2 separate regions of the Homo sapiens genome follow, and region 2 is linked to region 1. Evidence: promoter capture Hi-C in human tissues and cell types (Jung and others, 2019). All regions are on one chromosome and are shown on one strand. The core of a region is centred on a gene start or on the middle of the fragment in contact, and the rest is flanking DNA. Distances in the headings are between cores, read along the strand shown. Region 1 holds the start of PRRX2 (paired related homeobox 2). Region 2 has its middle 17 kb from the start of TOR1B.

Region 1 (4,103 bases), core at 569-3,068:
AAGGACGGAGAACCCCGTCATCTCCAAACCCTCCCTACCCATGTGTGCACCTGCACGGATTGCTGTGGCTAAAGACACTTCAGGGACACTCGGCCTCATTTTTTAAATTATTATTTCTTATTTAATTTAATTTATATATATTTTTTGAGATGGAGTTTCACTCTTGTTGCCCAGGCTGGAGTGCAATGGCGTGATTTCGGCTCACTGCAACCTCCGCCTCCCAGGTTCCAGCTATTCTCCTGCCTCAACCTCCCCAGTAGCTGGGATTACAGGCGCCTGCCACCATGCCCAGCTAATTTTTTTTATTATTATTATTTTTAGTAGAGACAGGGTTTCACCATGTTAGCCAGGCTGGTCTCGAACTCCTGACCTCAGGTGATCCACCCACCTCAGCCTTCCACAGTGCTGGGATTACAGGCGTGAGCCACTGTGCCCGGCCTACTCGGCCTCATTTTGAAGTCGATTCCTTTCCAGCGCGGGAGGGGGTGGGGGCGGACACAAACAACACACGCTGTGAGGATTAATGTATTATAATGTATTGCTAGGCTTTCCTTAAAAATAGTGTTCCCGGCTGGGTGCGGTGGCTCACGCCTGTAATCCCAGCACTGTGGGAGGCCGAGGCAGGTGGATCACCTGAGGTCAGACGCTGGAAACCAGACTGGCCAACATGGTGAAACCCCTCCTCTACTAAAAATACAAAAATTACCCGGGCATGGTGATGCACACCTGTAATCCCAGCTACTCGAGAGGCTGAGGCAGGAGAAGCGCTTGAAGTCAGGAGGCGGAGGTTGCAGCGAGCCGAGATCACGACACTGCACTCCAGCCTGGGCGACAGAGCCAGACTCTTGTCTCAAAAAAATAAAAATAAATAATAATAATAAATAATAAATAAAAATAATGGTCCGCAGGCTTTCAGGGATGTGTGCGGGCCGGTTTTCCATATGGGAACAGGGAAAGGATGTGCTGAAGGCTTCCTCCGGTAGGCGACTTTGGCTGATGTGACTTTATGCCTCGTAGTGAGGGCAGGGCGACAGAGGGACGGGCCGGTGAGCGGCTGTCCTGGAGAAAGAGCAGTGGCATCCGGGGGGCTTAGGGTCTCAGGTCTGCTCACTCCGCACATCTTTTCTGTGCTTTCATTGAAAAACAAAACTGAAACAAGAGCGGACACCTAAGTCTGCCTCTCTCTTTCCTGTCACCCGTCTCAGGCTGGCTGTCCTCTGTGTGTGCGCCAGGAATTCTGCAACGAAGCGCCTGCCTCTCCGCTTGGTTTTCCTTGGGGAAGGGCCTGGGGCCTCCTGGGGGGTGGGCACCGGGTGTGTGGGTGTGTGTGGGGGACCTGGCAGGGAGCAGCGGGGGAGAGGCGGGGTGGGGGGTCGCGTACACCCCAGGAGCCTGAGGATGCGCTGCCTGCTGGGAGAGACAGCCTTGGGGCGGGTGGTGTGCACAGAGCTCTGTCGGCCAGCGCGGGCGGGCGGGGCCGTTGTTGGGGGCGCTGAGGCGAGTGAGGCTGGAGCTGGGAGTGGGGGGCTCGTCGCCTTCGTCTCTGGGCCGCCCCCTCCACCTGCGGAGGCGATTGTAAAGGGAAGGGGGGAATCCCTCTGCCATCACCTCCCAGATACTTGGGGGATGGAAAACGACAAAACACGGAACCTCCCACTCCCTAAAAAGTGGGTGGGGAGGGTGAAGGGAGGACACCCCTTCCCCGCCCCCAGCGCCAGCAGCCGGGGTGGGGGCGGGCGAGGCGCGCGGGGAGGAGAGGGCGGAGGAGAGGACGGGGGGCGAGGTTTGCTTCAAGAAGGGGCGTGTGGCCGGCGCAGCGCGTGCACCAGCGGCTCCGGAGCGAGCGGCCGTGGCTGAGAAGGGGAGGGCGGAAAGTTTGTTTCCCCGACGTCAGCGCCGGGCGGGCCGCGAGGCTAGGAGGCGGCGGGAGCTGGGCAGAGCGCGGGGCGGCCGGGGCTCTCGCTCCGACCCGCGCCCGCGACCCTTCCTGGGACCCGAGCCCGAGACCCCCGCCGGCCCCCCCGGGGCCGCTCGCGGGCATGGACAGCGCGGCCGCCGCCTTCGCCCTGGACAAGCCGGCGCTGGGCCCGGGGCCGCCGCCGCCTCCACCCGCGCTGGGGCCCGGCGACTGCGCCCAGGCGCGCAAGAACTTCTCGGTGAGCCACCTCCTGGACCTGGAAGAGGTGGCGGCGGCCGGGCGGCTGGCGGCGCGCCCCGGGGCCAGGGCCGAGGCGCGGGAGGGCGCAGCACGGGAGCCGTCCGGGGGCAGCAGCGGCAGCGAGGCGGCGCCGCAGGATGGTGAGTACGGCCGGCCAGGGACGGGGGTGGCGGGGCCGGGGCCGGGGCCGGGGCCGGGGCGCGGGGTCCGGGGAGCCGGCGCGGGGCGGGCGAAGATGCAGGGCGCGTGGTCGGCGGCAGGACTTCTGGGGGCGCGTGTAAGTGACGGTGGACGGCGGTTGACCAGCACTCTGGGCTGGGGGAGGGGGACCCTCTTCGGGTCTTGGGGTGCGTCCCCACGGGGAAGTGCGCTGCCTTCGCTCCCCAGTATTCGGCTCCCGAACAGCCTGGGAAGTGGGTGTGGCTGCTGCCGGGTTACAACTGGGGAAACAGAGACCTGAGTCGGGCAAAGCCGCTGAGCTGCACGTTGGGGTTTCAAACCCGCCCCCTCCCGCACGAGCTAGCGCCGCCCCAGCTCCTCCTCGGTCTTAAGTTGGGCTCTTTGGGGGGCGAGGGTGCCTGCCCACCCCCCCCCACCCTCCAGTTTGCCCCGGGAGCAGCTGCCTCGGTGGAACGGCCCAGCCAGGCCTCTCTTCCCCGGCAGAGGTCAAAGGTCATCAGGAAGGGGCTTTAAAAACAAACAACCCACCCAAGTGGCCTTTTTCAAAAAGTGACACAGGATGGCAGGGTCCTGAGCCCTTGGTAAGAAGGGGAGGGACGGGGAGAAGATGGAGAAAAAGCAAAGGCCCCAGCCCCGGACGGTTCAGTGGGGGAGGGGAGGACCGGAGTCCTCGCGGCTCAGCACACACTAAGGATGGGGGCCCGGTGATCTGAAACCAGGCCCCTGTCCCCTAGCTCTGGGGATGGGCCGGCCTGCTGGGGGCTCTGGGCCCCTGAAGTGTGCCCGCCTGACTCCAGCAGCCCTCCCACCCGCCCCGGGGGACCCTGTTCCCGGCACCAGCCTCCAGGTCTCAGGGTGCCCAGGCTGGTGGCTGCGTTCCTTGGCTTTTCAGAGACAGGAGGTGCAGGGAAAACAGAGGTGGCTGCAGCCTAGTCTGAATCCATGTGCGTCCACGAGGACGCCTGCGACACGCCTGCCTTTCACGGGGCACCTTCTGCCAGCCTGTGGCTGAGATGAAGCCACTGGCTCCCTCATGGCAGCGGCCACCACTCACTGGCCACAGTGGACTGGCCACTGGCTGCACCCTCCGGGGTGAGTGTGAAGCCAGCAGACCTCCCAGGAGTTGGGGTTTAGCTCCTCAGTAGAAAAGGGGAGGGAGATGTCCACTCTGGCCCGGAGGAAAGCAGGTGCCCTCTGGTTTGTGCTGGGGGAATGCCCTGCCGGCCCAAGGTCATTTGAGGACCTCAGCGGCTCTGAGCCGGTCCCCCAACCCCAGGACAGAGGAGAGGTCCCGGTTTACCCTGATGAAGGGAGACTCCAGGGGTTGGGAAGAGAAGGAGGAACAACTTGAAGGTGAAGGGAAAGAAGGAAAGGAGAAGGCAAGGAAAGGAGAGAGAGAGGGAGGAGAGACAGAGGAAGAGGAAGGAAGGGAGAGGAGAGAGGGGTGAGGAGGGAAGGAAGGGGGCCAGGGTGTCTCGTACTCCAGTCCTGGCCAGGGGACGGCCTGCCCATTTCTGACCTACCCCTGCTGTGGGGACAGCCAGGGAAGGCCGTGCTTCTCCCGGACACGGTGTTGGAGGTCTCTGGTGGCGGGTTTCCCCGGGGATCCCAGAACAGCTAGTGTCAGCTGGGGATGTGGGCGCCTAGACAAGGCCCTTGGCAGCCTCCAGGCAGCTGGGTGTGCAGTGGGTCTCCCCAGCAGCTCCCTGGGGCTAGCCACCCTCCTGGAGAGCCCATGAGGCCTCCAGGCCTTCTCCTAAGAAGG
Region 2 (4,103 bases), core at 1,174-3,673, 120 kb after region 1:
CCTCTGTTTCTTGCAAAAACTGATTCTTCCTTGTGTCAAGTTGCTAGAAGGATCCCACAGCCCTCCCTCGGGTCTCCCCATTTCTAACCCGTAGTACTGGCCCCATCTAGTGGTTAGATTAGGGAAGTACCCCAGGCTCCCTCGGCCAAGCCCCTGGCGAGGCACGGTTGGGGAGAAATGGATGCTTTCTAGCCCTTCTCTCACCGGCAAAAATAGCAACACTCTTCAGGTTACCAAAGGCCAGATTCTCCTGATGTGTGTAAGCTATCCCTCTAGAGACCATCTTAACTTTTTCATTTAATTATCAACTATTTCATCAAAGATAGAGGAGAGAACATACTCTCCACCCAGATTTAGCAGAGATTACATTTTGCATTTTACTATATTTGCTTCAAATCTCTTTTTTTTTTTTTTTTTTGAGAGAGGGTCTCGCTTTATTGCCCAGGATGGAGTGCAGTGGTGCCATCACAGCTCACTGCAACCTCAACCTCCCGGGCTCAAGCAGTCCTCCCACCTCAACTTCCCGAGTAGCTGGGACTATAGGCGCGCAACACCATACCCAGCTAATTTTTGTATTTTTTGTAGAGACAGGGTCTTGTTACGTTGCCCAGGCTGGGCTTGAACTCCTGGACTCAAGTGATCCTCCTGCCTCAGCCTCCCAAAGTGCTGGGATTACAGGCATGAGCCACCGTGCCTGGCCTAGATCTCTATATCTTTAATAAAACTAAAACTTCAAGCCCCATCACTTTGGGATTCCTCTCCAAAAGTTATCTCCATGTCTAAGTTGAAGTATATCAATTCCTTTTTTTAAAAAATTTTGTCACTCTCAGGATATGCTTAAATATCAGTTCCTTTTTGTGTTTAGTTTTTACTTCAGCTACACATGTATTATGTGTCCATAAAAATGGATAGGGTGCTGTGTTGTTTTTTGTTTTTGTTTTTTTTTTTGGAGATGGAGTCTCGCTCTGTCACCCAGGCTGGAGTGCAATAGTGCAATCTTGGCTCACTGCAACCTCTGCCTCCTGAGTTCAAGCGACTCTCCTGCCTTGGCCTCCCGAGTACCTGGGATTACAGGCACCCGCCACCAGGCCCGGCTACTTTTTAGTATTTTTAGTAGAGACAGGGTTTCACCATCTTGGCCAGGCTGGTTTTGAATTCCTGACCTCGTGATCCACCCACCTTGGCCTCCCAAAGTGCTGGGATAACAGGCGTGAGCCACCGCACCCGGCATGCTGCATTTTTAATATGTAAATAGGCCAGGCATTGTGGCTTATGCCTGTAATTCCAGCAATTTGGGAGGCCAAGGCAGGCAGATCACTTGAGGCTAGGAGTTTAAGAACAGCCTGGCCAACATGATGAAACCCTGTCTTTACTAAAAATACAAAAATTAGCTGGGCGTGGTGGCTCATGCCTGTAATTCCAGCTACCCGAGAGGCTGAGGCATGACAATCGTTTTTTCCCGGGAGGCGGAGGTAGCAGTGAGCCGAGATCACACCACTGCACTTTAGCGTGGGCAATAGAGGAAGGAAGGAAGGAAAGAAGGAAGGAAAGGAAGAAAGGAAGGAAGGAGGGAGGGAGGGAGAGAGAAGAGTGTATATCATCTTGCTACTTTTGCTTTTTCCTCAACTCTGACTCCTGAGATTTACTGATATGGACACACAATAGTTCAAGTGTATCCATTTTTAACTGCTATATAATATTTCATTGTAGAACTGAACAATGGTTCATCCATTCTCTTAGTGATGGAAAATTAGGTGTGATTCCAATGTCTAATGTCATAAATCATGTTGCCATGAGCATCCTTGAATGTGTCTCCACATGCAAATGTGTGGGTTCCTACAGGGCAGGGCTCTGCACCCTCCTTGCCATGAAGGTCACAGATGAGCAGCAGGAAGGTCTGCAGTAGCCAGAGCTGTGGCCCAGGTAGCTCCTCTGCCAGCTCCTCCCCTAGCCTCACTGGCTGTACAAATACCTACACTGTCCACATGAGCCATAATGTGATAAAGACTCAAAGAGTGGAATTTCTGGGTTGCAGGGTACACACATCTTCAGCTTCACTGGACATTGCCAAACTGGCCTTGTCTTCCTCCTTTGCTCTTTAACTGACTTCAGAGACTCTTGTTGTCCCCAAGAAATCTGGGAGCTGCCATTTCCTGGGTATGTAGCTTAGGACTGAAGATCATCCAACCATCTATTCATTTCACAAATATTTGTTGACATCTGCTGTGCCATGAGTAATAAAGTTGTTTGTCTCTGACCCAGGAGACTCATGTCTTTGCCAGCCACCATGTAACTGGCAGGCTAACTTGTGGGCTTGCAAGCAGGGCAAAATATCAGACCCTTCCCAGTTCTTGACAAGATGCTCTCCTTTTCCCGCCATGTGTGAAGCACTGGTCCAAGCCCTGGAGGGTGCAAAAGAGCCAAATCCCTATCTCTACAAAAAAAAAAAAATTAATTAGCTGGGTGTGGTGATATGTGCCTAGTTCTAGCTACTCTTGAGGCTAAGGAGGGAGGACTGCTTGAGCCCAGGAGATTGAGGCTGCAGTGAGCCATGATCATACCACTGTACTCCAGCCTGGGCAAGAGAGTGAGACCTGTTTCTTAAAAAAAAAAAAAAAAAGTCCCTATGGATACAACCCATTAACCTCCTTCTGCAACCTCGGATTGGTACCTTGGTGGTTGTCGGGCCTCTGAGCCCAAGCTAACCCATCATATCCCCTGTGACCGGCACGTATACATCCAGATGGCCTGAAGCAACTGAAGATCCACAAAAGACGACATTCCACCATTGTGATCTGTTCCTGCCCCACCCTCAACTGATCAACTGACCTTATGACAATACACGCTCCCCGCCCTTGTGATAATGCACTTTGTGATATTCCCCCGCCCACCGCCCTTAAGAAGGTACTTTGTAATATTCTCCCCGCCCTTGAGAATGTACTTCCTAAGATCCACCCCCTGCCCACAAAAAAATTGCTCCTAACTCCACTGCCTATCCCAAACCCATAAGAACTAATGATAACCCCACCACCCTTTGCTGACTCTCTTTTCGGACTAGCCCGCCTGCACCCAGTTGAAATAAACAGCCTTGTTGCTCACACAAAGCCTGTTAGTGGACTCTTCACACAGAAGCGCGTGACAGTGGTGTGTGATCCCTTTGGACAGCAGCTTTCCTTTCCCCACTATGTTTTGCTTTCTAAGTGGGTTGACAGCCTTTGAGTCCACAACCACCGGGAGGTCAACGGGCGTGAGCAAGTCTCAGGGTAAGAAGAAGCCAGCTCAGGGATAACCATATCCTGCAGAGAACTCACAGGTGAACAACTGAGCCTTGATTGAAAATAAATGACGGCCAAGGTCACACAGTCTATAGCGGCGTGGCTGAGCTTCAGACCGGTTATTCCCACGCCCAGTGCTTGGCCATCCCGTTTGTGATCGGTTTGGGGCTGGAGGTGGCACTTGGTTAGGGAACAATAGTGGGAGACCAGAGTACTGTGTATTCACAAACCCAAAGAACAGGAAGCTTTTCAACAGCAGCAGTAGCAATGTCCTTGGGGTGTATTTCAACAATACTGCACTTATAAAGAATTCTCCATGGGACAGCAGGAGTATCTCAGGTAAGGTTGGGAGAGCTTGGAGGAACGAAGCCTGGAGGGATTATGAAAGCAAAATGGACAATATGTGCCTGTATTTCCCCCAGCACAGCACTGATCCCACTGGACTGTAATTGCTGGGGACTTGCCCCTCTGCCCCCACCTCCCGACCAGGTGGGAGTCCTGGTGGGTGGTGCCAAGTCTTTCTTATTGACTGTTGAGTCCCAACACCTGACAAAGAGGAAGCCCCCGGCCACAAGTAGATAGGGGATGCATTTCCAACGTGAGTAGAATGGATGATAGTGGCCCAGAGTTCAAGGAGAGAACTTCCTGGAAGACTTGGCTCCCACAACAGCCACCCCCTTATTTATTTATTTATCTATTTTTTTTTTTGAGACGGAGTCTCACTCTGTCACCTGGGCTGGAGTGCAGTGGTGAAATCTCAGCTCACTGCAACCTCCACCTCCCAGGTTCAAGAGATTCTCCTCCCTCAGCCTCCCAAGTAGCTGGGAT

Evidence for each region. The method cuts DNA at HindIII sites, captures the fragments that hold promoters and counts their contacts. A contact is called where the count stands out against the background at its distance.
Region 2: a fragment that was not itself captured here is called in contact with the fragment with the promoter of PRRX2 in region 1 in 2 of the 25 tissues and cell types used here (adrenal gland and lymphoblastoid cells).

What each region holds. Positions count from the first base shown.
Region 1 is chr9:129,663,829-129,667,931 of GRCh38, forward strand. It overlaps PRRX2 (paired related homeobox 2), which reads left to right and starts at 1,819. Exons shown (of 4, transcript NM_016307.4): 1 at 1,819-2,298. The coding sequence starts at 2,040. The HindIII fragment of the contact is 13,961 bases long and covers 461-4,103 here.
Region 2 is chr9:129,783,833-129,787,935 of GRCh38, forward strand. No RefSeq gene overlaps it. Among named protein-coding and RNA genes, the nearest start is that of TOR1B, 17 kb to the right of the region's middle. The HindIII fragment of the contact is 6,559 bases long and covers 1-4,103 here.